5 separate regions of the Homo sapiens genome follow, and all the other regions are linked to region 1. The links are contacts of gene promoters, found by promoter capture Hi-C in blood cells and fetal thymus (Javierre and others, 2016). All regions are on one chromosome and are shown on one strand. Each heading gives the region's core, a stretch centred on a gene start or on the middle of the fragment in contact. The rest is flanking DNA. Distances are from core to core; before and after follow the strand shown.

The links. The method cuts DNA at HindIII sites, captures the fragments that hold promoters and counts their contacts. A CHiCAGO score of 5 or more calls a contact.
Region 2: a fragment that was not itself captured here is called in contact with the fragment with the promoter of IFIT3 in region 1 in 1 of 17 cell types (non-activated CD4 T cells); the score reaches 6.1 in non-activated CD4 T cells.
Region 3: a fragment that was not itself captured here is called in contact with the fragment with the promoter of IFIT3 in region 1 in 1 of 17 cell types (non-activated CD4 T cells); the score reaches 7.3 in non-activated CD4 T cells.
Region 4: a fragment that was not itself captured here is called in contact with the fragment with the promoter of IFIT3 in region 1 in 1 of 17 cell types (activated CD4 T cells); the score reaches 5.1 in activated CD4 T cells.
Region 5: a contact is called between a fragment that was not itself captured here and the fragment with the promoter of IFIT3 in region 1, in 1 of 17 cell types (erythroblasts). The highest score is 5.8, in erythroblasts.

The regions. Positions count from the first base shown.
Region 1 is chr10:89,326,717-89,329,294 of GRCh38, forward strand. IFIT3 (interferon induced protein with tetratricopeptide repeats 3) reads left to right here and starts at 1,281. Exons shown (of 2, transcript NM_001549.6): 1 at 1,281-1,362. The coding sequence starts at 1,358. It also overlaps a transcript of LIPA not described here. RefSeq lists an enhancer at 1,049-1,288 and a silencer at 1,609-1,658. The HindIII fragment of the contact is 8,842 bases long and covers 1-1,982 here.
Region 2 is chr10:88,826,035-88,828,612 of GRCh38, forward strand. It overlaps ANKRD22 (ankyrin repeat domain 22), which reads right to left. Exons shown (of 6, transcript NM_144590.3): 3 at 2,525-2,578; 4 at 4-81. Among named protein-coding and RNA genes, the nearest start is that of ANKRD22, 25 kb to the right of the region's middle. The HindIII fragment of the contact is 1,249 bases long and covers 678-1,926 here.
Region 3 is chr10:88,868,936-88,871,513 of GRCh38, forward strand. No RefSeq gene overlaps it. Among named protein-coding and RNA genes, the nearest start is that of STAMBPL1, 10 kb to the right of the region's middle. The HindIII fragment of the contact is 192 bases long and covers 1,186-1,377 here.
Region 4 is chr10:88,988,926-88,991,425 of GRCh38, forward strand. FAS (Fas cell surface death receptor) reads left to right here and starts at 1,873. Exons shown (of 9, transcript NM_000043.6): 1 at 1,873-1,981. The coding sequence starts at 1,952. It overlaps FAS-AS1 (FAS antisense RNA 1), which reads right to left. Exons shown (of 1, transcript NR_028371.1): 1 at 2,497-2,500. It also overlaps a transcript of ACTA2 not described here. RefSeq lists a silencer at 569-618 and enhancers at 1,026-1,537, 1,538-2,048, 2,189-2,500. The HindIII fragment of the contact is 2,159 bases long and covers 172-2,330 here.
Region 5 is chr10:89,646,663-89,649,240 of GRCh38, forward strand. PANK1-AS1 (PANK1 antisense RNA 1) reads left to right here. Exons shown (of 5, transcript NR_184344.1): 2 at 2,261-2,336; 3 at 2,485-2,578. Among named protein-coding and RNA genes, the nearest start is that of PANK1, 2.7 kb to the left of the region's middle. The HindIII fragment of the contact is 371 bases long and covers 1,112-1,482 here.

The DNA.
Region 1 (2,578 bases), core at 31-2,530:
AAAAAATTTTTAAAAATAATAAGAATTGGCTTAAAAAATGCTGTTTCCTGGGCCCCACCCTAGACTGATGGTCAGATACCTAATGTTGACAAAAAAAGTCAAACTCTGTAAAACATTTGAAGAGATTTATTCTAAGCCAAATATGAATGACCTATGGCCTGTGACACAGCCCTCAGGAGATCCTGAGAACATGTGCCAGGCCACAACTTGGTTTTATACATTTTAGGGAGACATAAGGCATCAATCAATACATGTAAGGTGTACATTGGCTAGGTCCAGAAAGGTGGGACAATTGGAAACAGGGAAGCGGGGCAGCTTCCAAGTCATAGGCAGATTCAAAGATTTTCTGATTGACAATTTGTTGAAAGAGTTATTATCAATAGAAAGGAATGTTTGGAGACATCCAATAGAAATTCAATAGACAATCATTAGAAAGGAATGTCTGGGTCGTGGAGACCAAGGTTTTATTATGCAGATGAAGCCTCCAAGTAGCAGGCTTCAGAGAGAATAGGTTGTAAATGTTTCTTAATACACTTAAAAAGAGCATGTTCTGGCTGGGTGCAGTGGCTCATGCCTGTAATCCCAGCACTTTGGGAGGCCAAGGTGGTTGGATCACCTGCTATCAGGAGTTCAAGACCAGCCTGACCAACATGGCGAAACCTCGTCTCTACTAAAAATACAAATATTAGCCGGGCATGGTGGTGGGTGCCTGTAATCCCAGCTACTCGGGAGGCTGAGGCAAGAGAATCACTTGAACCCAGGAGGCAGAGGTTGCAGTGAGACGCAATCATGCCACTGCATTCCAGCCTGGGCAACAGAGTAAGACTCTGTCTCAAAAAAAAACAAAAACAAAAACAAAAAAAGAGTGTGTTCTATTAGTAATTCCAAAAGGAAAAAGGATGTAATGAGGCATATCCAGCTTCCCCTTCACATCAGTTTTCAGGTTAACTTTGGAATGCCCTTGGCCAAAAGCAGGGGTCCAGTCACATGGTTGGTGAGTATGGCCTTAGAATTTAATTTTTTGGTTTACATTAGGAATGCTTCCACATTCTCTCAAACAAATTTTAGTCACAGTTTTGAATAACGTACTCTGGCTCAGCCATTGCAGGTCTCAAGCCGTTAGGTTTCATTTTCCTCCTCCCAACGATTTTAAATTAGTTTCACTTTCCAGTTTCCTCTTCCTTCCCCTAAAAGCAATTACTCAAAAACGGAGAAAACATCAGCTGATGCGTGCCCTACTCTCCCACCCCTTTATATAGTTCCTTCAGTATTTACTTGAGGCAGACAGGAAGACTTCTGAAGAACAAATCAGCCTGGTCACCAGCTTTTCGGAACAGCAGAGACACAGAGGGCAGTCATGAGGTCAGTGAAATAAGAATGCATAATCATGCTTGTTTTTGAGTGCAAATTGTAAGTTGAGTTTCTTACTGTGCAGGCACATTCCTGAATTGTCCTGATGTTTATAGATTCAATATGTCTTTATCAGTCTGAGCATTTGTAAGATGTTTGAGGGGTTTTTCCCTGTGGCTTTTTTTGGTGTACACACAGGCTTCTTAAGTTTCTGGAATGGTTCCCTACGGAACTACATGGGGGGAGGCAGGGTGGGGAATGCATCAGCTCATGTTTCCTCCCTGTGTGCAGCTATTTCCTGCAATGAGAGGAAGGCTTGGCAGGAGCGGTGTATTTCACTCAGCCACAAACTTGGCTGATTCAAGGGTAGACCTAAGGGAATTACTCTTTTGGGTTTTTCTGTTATTGTCATTTTGTTTGAAAAGATTAAGTCACAGGCTTTTTTTCTTGTAATTTTAAAAGGAGGAATTTATTTTCAACAGATATTGTGAAAGATACAATCAGTACTGCAAACCCACTCATGAAGAAGGCAATTTTGCCCTGAAACGTTGCATTACTTTAAGGTGGGAAGTGGAAGAAACAATTCTTACAAATGGGCATTTTTGTCATTTCTTATATAAAAACAAACCCAAAGCTTAGCATTTATTTTTATTGATGTAGTGAATGCTGGTCAGCAGCAAAAAAAGAATTTCTCCTCAAAAGTGTAATGACCTAATCTATTATCTAAAACTAGTCTAATCTCTAATGGTGGGAAGCAGATCAGTGGTTGCCTGGAGATGGTGGGGATTGAGTAGGAAGGCTCCCAAAAGAATCTTTTTAGAATCATAGGAATAGTCTATAGGGAGGTAGTGATGGTGGCTACATATGCATAAACATTTACCAAAACTCATCAGACTATACACTGAAAATGGGTGCATCTTATTGTATATAAAGCATAATCTCAGTAAACTTGATTTTTAAATTTATATATTGACCTCCTGGAGTTCTTCAGGGGATAGCATGTTAGGGAGAACTAAGAGAAAAGGATGCCTTTCCCACCAAGCATCTCTAGGAAAGGAGTGAGGAGGTGATTGCCAGGGAGGGAAGACCCCATCGACCATTCAGGGGGGCAGAAAAGGAAAACTGGATTCCCTACCTTACTCTGCCCCAAGGACTTGAAGATGCTCTGCAATGTCATGTTTGGGGATGAGATGGGTAAGAGGAATTCACTGCCAAATACCTCAGTATA
Region 2 (2,578 bases), core at 52-2,551, 500 kb before region 1:
TACACAATCTGTAGCATTAACTTCGACGCCAGCATCAAGTAGCATTCGTACAAGAGCCTCATTCTGCTTTGTCTTTGATACCTATTACAAATGGTAATTATAAGAAAGGCTTATTTACAAATAGTTTCTCCAATTTATGCCTGAGACTATTTAATCAATAGGCTTCATTTTAATCCCAACACTCCTATGCATGCATGCACCCTTCCTAAAATTTCCCCCAGCTTCTCACTCACTCTAATATCAATTAATTAAAGCCAGGTTCTCAGACTGTGGTCCTGAAGTAGCGGCACTGACACCTAAGAACCTTAGAAATGTACTTCTCAGGTCCCACCCCAAACCTACCTAATTCCACTGAGGATGGGGCCTAGTACCTGTCTTTCCCTTCCTGGCTCAAAGCTGTGCAATTACTTCCCATTGCTCTGAGGACAAAAGTAAACTCTTCAGCATGACCTACAAAGCCCCGTATGTTTTGGCTCCACGTATGGCCCTGCCCTGGCCTCTCTCTCACTCTGCGCCTCCTGGCTCACTCTGTTCTACTTACATTGGCCTTTGTTAATCTTTCATTCTCAGAGAATCATTGCACAGGAAGTTCCTTCTGCCTAGAAGCCTCCTCCCTCTCTTCTTTGCCTGGCATATTCACCTTTCATTCATCAGCCCAAGTCCCTCTTTCTCTAAGAAGCTTTCCCTGACCCACCTGACCAGGTGAAATCCCTCTTTTTTAGCTATCCTAACACCAGTCGCCTTTCTGTATCACCCGCTTTATGGTAATTTTACATGTGTTTGTGCCATTTGATTAATGACTCTCCCCACCACCCTCTAACTCTCATGGGGTAAAAAACTATGCCTATTTTGTTCATCATTGTGTCCCTAACAGCTAGCACAGCGTCTGGCACATAGTAGGTCCATAATAAACATACGTTAAAGAATTGAACAAATTAATGAAATGAACTAGGACTCCTCAGAAATTCACTTTTCCTTCCCAGTCTCCTGAGCTTCTGACCACAAGCCTGTTGGAGTCTTCCCCAACTTCCAGTCTCCTGAAGAGGCAAAGCTCTCCCTGCTCAGCTGGGTATAGCCCTGGAGTTCAACCCTGTCATCACCTGGGAAGCTCCATCCAGTTCTCTCTCCTTAGGCTTCCCTCTTGTGTCACCTCCTAAACTGCCTTTCTCTGCCTACTTTTCTCTGAAATAACCCAATGCTTTCCTCTCTCCTCCCCTATCATTTCCTCTCATGTCACTTATTTGTTAATTCATCACAAATTTACAACTTTAGGCCCCATTAATAAATTGCACGTGCATGAAACTAGAGTTGAGCTATTCATTACGATTACTATTTTTGCCCAGTCCTCCAGCCTCTAAACATTGAACCATCTTAGAAAGCAGAGTTGTGTGTCAATAAATTCTGAATGAGCCTTCTAATCACAGTTGTAATTTTTACCTTTAGAATCTCTAAAAATGTTTGTAAATAAATAACAGATTCTCCCTGCCCCCAAAATACATGTATTTAAATGCTATGTGCTAAATACATAATGAATTTTTAAAGAATTCTTCGAGGATATGAGCAGATTATATTTTTATTAGTGAATTAAAGTTCTTTTCTCTCTCCTATAAATCCAAATATAAAAATCAACATTGTCATGTTTAATTATAGTTCCTCAAATTCTGTGGCATTTAAATACCCAATGAAATAATAACATTTTTGACGGGCAGACTTGTTCTGCGGCTGATGTTAACAGGTGTAACCAATATTCACAGTTTATGAGCTACAACAAGGAGGGAGCTTGGTCATTTAATTAAAGTAAATTATGCATCTCTTGAGTCATGTCTGAGAAGTGGAACTGGGCACAAAGGAAACTAGATGGATAAAAGTGAGTAAGTCAGTGCAGATCTGTTACCCTATTGGGAAAAAAAACCAAAAACCATCTCAAGCTTCATCTTCTACTCCTCATATGACTGCATCTCTATACCAACTACATCTTTCTTTATTCAAGAAAATTGCTGTCTGCCAAGATTCATCCAAGCATGAAGAAATTCATCAAGGTGAAAATGGGCTTAAATTCTCAACAAGTATCTTCTGTGTGTGTCAGCTTCTGGATGCAAACTTTTAGGATCTGTTTTTCAACACACCACCAGAGGAGTACTTAAAAATCAGTAAGTCAGAAAGATAAATCCAAAAACACAAACTCCTCTTTTAAAAAAAGGAGAAAAAAATATTAGAAGGGGTGTTTTTTAATATTCAGAATTTTTTTGCTCCCTTCAGAAAAGTCTTAGTTAAGGTTAAATTATTTTTCTAAATCAACATTGCATGGATTATGTTACCATTGATTAACTATTTTTGCTAGCTTTCTTCTTGCTGTACTTCAATTATAGCATTGGATGTATGTTGAACATGTCAATTACAGAATACAAACCAAAGGCTTTTTTTGTTTTTATTTCTTTTCAACATCTCACTGGCCTGGCAAGAGTCAATGAGTCACACCATCGATCTCCACATTTGCCCTTTGCTCTACAAGTGTTGTACTCACCATGAGGAAATACCCAATAAGCAGAACAGGCATTAAGAGGATAATTAGTAGATA
Region 3 (2,578 bases), core at 32-2,531, 460 kb before region 1:
ATATAATGTTCATTGCTATTTTAGAGATCTGGAAATTGAGACTTAGAGTCAGTAACTTACCTAAGAATAAAGAGCTTGTAAGTGGCAGAACTGGGACTCCTGTAGCATCTCTCAGTGCTGGACATTTAGAAGTCATCTGGTGACAATTTGTTGAGCTGATGTAATTGGATGTAAAGATTGTAAGATTTTTTTTTAATGTAGGAAAATGTTCTCCATTTGTTAAAAGAAAAAAGTTATTAAGGAACATGCATATTCTAATACTAGTTTGGTAAAATAAACATAGAATGATATATGGAGTAGTATGTGTGTTTGTATAAATAGATGTATCTAAGAGTAGATAAGCCAAAGTGCTGGATCTTTCTGGGTGGTGAGATCACAAGATGATTTTAATTTTTCTGTTTTTAGATCTTTATTTTAAAAACATTCTAGTTTTATATGAAGAAGAGGTAAATAGTTGGCTGTTTGCCTCAAAGTTTGGTTGGGTAATTCGTTAAATGGCATCCTAAAAGTCTGGGGATAAGAGAGGCGAAATGTTTGTCTGATCAGAAAAGGAGCAGTGTAGGAGGCAGATGTGAGTCCCAGCAGTTTTTCCAGAGCCCCCAGGCTCATCCTAGACCTCCTCTGTCAGGAACACCTAGTTTAAGGCAAGTCCTCAGGGGCATGTCCTAGATCCCCTCATCAGAGGACTCACTGGAGGTCATCAGCTCATGGAAATCCTTTAGAGCAACCAGATTTGTCTCCTGCAGCATTAAATATCTTTATTCTTCAATGATATATATTTTTTCTTTTTTTACAGTGAGTAGGAAGACCAAAATGAGAACATATTGGGGAAAGACCTAAGGTTTTACCATCTTAAGCCCAGATGATTGCTTCGAGTCTGTCTCCTCTCCAAATCATCTTGAACACAGTGGCCTGAAGCCCCTTTCAAAATGGCCTTTTACAGTGGTGTATTAGAGAGAAGATGTATTTCTTTTACAACTTTAAAAATTTTTATTATTATACAAATAATAGATTTTTTTCAGAAATATTGGAAAAGCAGAGAAATAATACCATTCAAAAAATAAAGGAAAAAGAAGAAACTGAAGATCACACGTAATTCCATCCCCCATCATCCAAGAGCTTCTGGAATTCAACTCATTCTCCAGGCACTGAGATAATGCTAGAGGAAGTTATTTATGTTGCAAAAGCTTCCTTAGGCTAAGTCAATATAGATTTTAATCAAGCTAGTATCAAATCTTAATGAAACATGTGCTAAGAGATGCATTTTGTTTCCTTTGTCTCCTAGCCTGCATTGCAAATGTCTCTTTTTGGCCCTGACATCAGGGCTGAAACAGAAACTAAATACTTAAGTAAAGTGCATCATTGTCCAGAAAAGTAAGCTTGGATATTTGCATGTTAAATGCCCTGTAAATACAAAGACAGATTTTGCTTCCCCCACCACACACAACTTCCTATTGCTGTGTGTGTGAATTAATGAACTTACAGGATAGCTCAGGGATGTCTCTTCATCTGTTTCAGCCTTAACTACTACTTCCTAATTGAGAATTGTCTTTTACTACTAACCATGATGATGATAATTTATTGGGTATCCACACAGGCTAAGCACTTTAGTAGACCAGCTCACGAATATTTACAAACTTTCTTTAAATTAGGATTATTCTCCCTGTCGTATAGATGAGGAAACAGAAATTAATTTACTGGCTCAAAGGCCACAAAAATGCAAAGTGGCAAACTAAGCTTCCCAGGTCTATCTGGTTCCAGAGCTTTTTGTCTTAACCATTGGAGTAAATAGCTTCACTTTCTGCCAAAGTGGCTTGTGCTCATGGTTCCAATAATCCAAGTAGAGAAGAACATTTTGGATCAAGAGGGTACAGGGTCATCGACTCAACCTTAATTTTCTAAAGATCACACCTGATGACCTAAAATTCAACTGTCTTGGGGCCAATAATGGCTGTTTGGTTGAACACAGGTGCCTATCGAATTTTTTTTTTATATATATACTTTAAGTTCTGGGATACATGTGCAGAACGTGCAAGTTTGTTACATAGATATACACGTGCCATGGTGGTTTGCTGCACCCAACAGCCTGTCATCTACATTAGGTATTTATCCTAATGTTATCCCTCCCCTTGCTCCCCTCCCCCTGTCATGCCCCCGTGTATGATGTTCCCCTTCCTGTGCCCATATGTTCTCATGGTTCAACTCCCACTTATGAGTGAGAACATGCGGTGTTTGGTTTTCTGTTCCTGTGTTAGTTTGCTAAGAATGATGGTTTCCAGCTTCATCCATGTCCCTGCAAAGGACATGAACTCATTTTTTATGGCTGCATAGTATTCCATGCTGTATATGTGCTACGTTTTCTTTATCCAGTCTATCATTGATGGGCATTTGGGTTGGTTCCATGCCTTTGCTATTGTGAATAGTGCTGCAATAAGCATACTTGTACATGTGTCTTTGGAGTAGAATGATTTATTATCCTTTGGATATATATCCAGTAATTAGATTGCCAGGTCAAATGGTATTTCTAGTTCTAGATCCTTGAAGAATTGCCACACTGTCATCCACAATGGTTGAATTA
Region 4 (2,500 bases), core at 1-2,500, 340 kb before region 1:
CAAAGCACATATTCCTATCTCCTTGAACTTGAGGATAATTAGACGTACGTGGGCAGAGGGTAGGGGAAGGGGGTATGGCATAGAAAGAGCAGGACCTTGGGAGCAAGAATATCTAAGTTTAATTCCTGACTCTGCTATTTATTAACTAACCATCTTTGCCAATGTTGCTTAAGCTTTTTTGGCTACATTTTTTTATTTGTAAAGTAAGTTTAATAATCACTCATCTCACTGGGCTATAATGATAAGTATTAAGTAAGGAAGATCCACATATGTGAGTTGCTGGCTTATAATTCACACTCAAGAGATACTGATTTTGTCAATTGTCCTTTCCCCTTTTTTTCTCTCTTCCCTCCTTCCATTCCTTCTTCCCTTACCTCTCCTTTCCTTCCCTCACACCCCTTTTCCTTCCTTCTTTTTACATTTTTTTATTTAAATGAACTTTTCATTTTGGAATAGTTTTAGGATTTCAAAAAATTTGCAGAGATAATACAGAGAATGCCCATATACCATCCTCCTTATCCCACTTCTTTTTGTGTCTATTAGATGCTCAGAGTGTGTGCACAAGGCTGGCACGCCCAGGGTCTTCCTCATGGCACTAACAGTCTACTGAAAGGTGGAACAGAGACAAGCCTATCAACACCTACAAGACTGGTGGTAAGTGCAGTGACAGATGCAAAACACAGGGTGATGGAAAGCCCTCAGGAGGGTAACCTAACCTAGATTTGAGGGCCCAAACAGGCTCCAGAAGAAAATGTCAACTGAGAGGAAGCCTGAAGGATGAACAGTGGGCTAAGCAAAGGGTTATTAATGTGTTATTAATGGGTTGAATCTAATTGGGAAGGGAGAGAGGTTGCAGAGTGAGGTGCAGAGCTTGGTGGACGATGCCAAAGGAATACTGAAACCTTTAGTGTGTCCAGTCTGGAACTGCATCCAAATTCAGGTTCAGTAATGATGTCATTATCCAAACATACCTTCTGTAAAATTCATGCTAAACTACCTAAGAGCTATCTACCGTTCCAAAGCAATAGTGACTTTGAACAGTGTTCACCAGAGCACGAAAGAATTACAAGATTTTTTTTTAAAGAAAATTGGCCAGGAAATAATGAGTAACGAAGGACAGGAAGTAATTGTGAATGTTTAATATAGCTGGGGCTATGCGATTTGGCTTAAGTTGTTAGCTTTGTTTTCCTCTTGAGAAATAAAAACTAAGGGGCCCTCCCTTTTCAGAGCCCTATGGCGCAACATCTGTACTTTTTCATATGGTTAACTGTCCATTCCAGAAACGTCTGTGAGCCTCTCATGTTGCAGCCACAACATGGACAGCCCAGTCAAATGCCCCGCAAGTCTTTCTCTGAGTGACTCCAGCAATTAGCCAAGGCTCCTGTACCCAGGCAGGACCTCTGCGCTCTGAGCTCCATTCTCCTTCAAGACCTCCCCAACTTCCCAGGTTGAACTACAGCAGAAGCCTTTAGAAAGGGCAGGAGGCCGGCTCTCGAGGTCCTCACCTGAAGTGAGCATGCCAGCCACTGCAGGAACGCCCCGGGACAGGAATGCCCATTTGTGCAACGAACCCTGACTCCTTCCTCACCCTGACTTCTCCCCCTCCCTACCCGCGCGCAGGCCAAGTTGCTGAATCAATGGAGCCCTCCCCAACCCGGGCGTTCCCCAGCGAGGCTTCCTTCCCATCCTCCTGACCACCGGGGCTTTTCGTGAGCTCGTCTCTGATCTCGCGCAAGAGTGACACACAGGTGTTCAAAGACGCTTCTGGGGAGTGAGGGAAGCGGTTTACGAGTGACTTGGCTGGAGCCTCAGGGGCGGGCACTGGCACGGAACACACCCTGAGGCCAGCCCTGGCTGCCCAGGCGGAGCTGCCTCTTCTCCCGCGGGTTGGTGGACCCGCTCAGTACGGAGTTGGGGAAGCTCTTTCACTTCGGAGGATTGCTCAACAACCATGCTGGGCATCTGGACCCTCCTACCTCTGGTGAGCCCTCTCCTGCCCGGGTGGAGGCTTACCCCGTCTTAGTCCCGGGGATAGGCAAAGTGGGGCGGGCGCGGGACGCGTGCGGGATTGCGGCGGCAGCGGCGCACGCGGGCACCTGGGAGCGGCGGGCTGCTGCGGGAGGCGTTGGAGACTGGCTCCCGGGGGCTGTTAGGACCTTCCCTCAGGCCCGGGTGCTCAGAACGCTGGAGGACTTGCTTTTCTTGGGCCTTGATGCGAAGTGCTGACCCCGCTGGGCAGGCGGGGCAGCTCCGGCGCTCCTCGGAGACCACTGCGCTCCACGTTGAGGTGGGCGTGGGGTGCGGACAGGAATTGAAGCGGAAGTCTGGGAAGCTTTAGGGTCGCTGGAGGGGGACCCCGGTTGGAGAGAGGAGCGGAACTCCTGGACAAGCCCTGACAAGCCAAGCCAAAGGTCCGCTCCGGCGCGGGTGGGTGAGTGCGCGCCGCCCCGCGGGGGCGGGGAGAGAGCCTGCAGCCTTCAGAACAGATATTGCTCATTTT
Region 5 (2,578 bases), core at 47-2,546, 320 kb after region 1:
TCTGGCCCCTCCCTACCTCTCCTGCCTCATCAGGGGCTCCCTGTGCTGCCTTCAATTCCTTAAACAACATTCTGCTGTTTCCATTGCCTTAGAGAAGTCTCTTCTCTAAGACCTCTTTTGTCTACTAGACTCCAACTTTAGATCTCCTCTTTAACTTCTCATATTTAGAGAAATGTTCCCTGACCCTTAGGGCTACATTAGGTCTCCCTGCCATACCCTCTTCCTACTCCTTGTACTCTGTTTATGACTCCTTATCATTTTGTAACTATACCATGCATCTGTTCCCTCATTTGTAACTTGAGAATAATAGGACATCACTGAGTTGTTAGACTGATGAAATGCATAACACATGCGTAAAATTAATTCAAACTTCAAGCTATTGGAACTTTTTTGTGAGACTTGAGAGAAATGTGGCTATGCAGCTACAACTTCTGCTTTTTTTTTTTTTTTTTTTAAGACAAGGTCTCACTCCTTCACCCAGGCTGGAGTGCAGTGGCACAGTCGTAGCTTACTGTAGCCTCCAACTCCTGGGCTCAAGCGATCCTCCCACCTTGGCCTCCCAAAGTATTGGAATTATAGGAATGAGCCACCATGCCTGGGCTTGCCTTTTTTCCTTGTAAATAATTAGGAAGACCGAGCAGGGCCAGAGATACTAATCCCTTGGATCACTGCCTCTCCTCACAGAGTAATAATCTTCCTTGGAATGCAGCAGTCTGCAACCAATCAAATCGCTGTGGCATATGCATTGGTCTTGTATGGAAAATGTAATTCTGCTGGAACTTCTCCATCTCTGCCAGTATAAGTGAAATCTTAACTTCTCCACTTTGGAGCACTGATCCCACTCATTTGGAGTTAGTGTTTCCAGGTGGCTATCCTCAAGCTTTGCACTCAAACTTCATACTTAATCATGTTCTCTAAATCTCATTATTTAAGGTTAACATATGTAAAGTGTCCAGCACATTGTAAGTGCTAGAAAAAGACATTATTATTATTTGATTGCCCATCTTACCCCACTTCACTGTAAGCATCTTTAAGGCAGATGACTTGTTCATCACTCTATCCCTAGGAGGCACTTGGTAATTATTTGTGACTGGATAAATGACTTATATCAAGCTTGTCTAGCCTGTGGCCCACAGCCTGCATGCGGCTCAGGACGGCTTTGAATACGGCCCAACACAAATTCATAAACATGAGATTTATTTTTGTGACTTTTTTTTTTTTAGCTCATTAGCTATCATTAGTGTTAGTGTATTTTATGTGTGGCCCAAGACAATTCTTCCTCTTCCAGTGTGGCTCATGGAAGCCAAAAGATTGGACACCCCTGACTTAGATGATATTTCACACAGAGTCCCCCTCACTTTCTACTGTAAATTTGCTAAAAATCACCAGCCACTCCTAAATATTCAAATATATCATTTTCAAATTCCCACATAATTGAGCTGAGTGGCTTAGGAAGCAAATTACATCAGAGATGCAAATAGAAGCTTTAGCATTGCAATATCTCCAAGGACATATTTTTTCTAGCTGGATTCCCAGGCCTGCTGAGGAAGGCCTGAGCCAGGTGGCTCAGACCCAGGCAGGGCAAAAGTACTGGTACTGGGACAGAACGTCCTCCACCTGCTTCCTTTCTCCTACCCTTGTCAGGCTGGGTGCTTGGATCAGTTACACCCAGCGTATGGTAGGGAAGAAGCCAGGTGGCATCTCACAGGTTTATTCAGGGGTGTGTGTAGGAGGTGTAACTTTGAGGCGTGAGCTGTCATGTCCTCCAGGAGGGGCATGCAACAAATGTTTGGAAGAGAGTGAGGGAGAAGGGAACCCACAAACCAGTGCACTCCCTTGGGTCTTATTCATTTATTTAATAATCATTTATTGTGTGTACTATGTTGTAGGCACTAAAGCATGCTGGGAATACAAAGACAAAATAGATGGCTTCACTGCCCTCAAAGGGCTTACAATTCAGTAGAGAGAGAAAAGTCAGTGATTCTCCAGCATCAGTGTTATGTAAGAATAACCTAGGGAATTTTTCCTTTTTAAATTTGTATTAAAACTAACATACATACAGAAAAGTATGCATATCTTATAAAGCTCAAGGTATTTTGCAAAAAATGAACATGCAGTGTAACTTGCAACCCAGGATATTTTGTAAGCACAGATTCTGGGTCCAGTTCCCATAGACTGATTCATCAGTAGGTGATGATGATGATAACGAAGATGATAATAAATATTTTTAAAATTAAAAAAATAACTTTTTCAAAAACAGGGGATTTGATGCAGATGATCATCATGGCTTGGAGAAACAATGAAGGAAGCAAAGTATGCCATCTATGCTGCGGGAGGTAACTCCAGAAGACCCCAGAGAGTGAGCAATGACAGAGTCAGGGGTGGGGGTTTATGGGGGAGTGGTGCTGAGGTGGAAGCTAAAACAGGTTTCAGGGAGGAAATGACCCTTAAACTGAATTTTGAATAATATTGGCCTTTCTTCAGGTGAATAGGGAGGGAAGGTTTAAAAGAATCTACTCAGAACTGAAGGAGCCAAGACTCTGTGGGTGCATTTGAAACAACCTGGCATTTTTGGGAA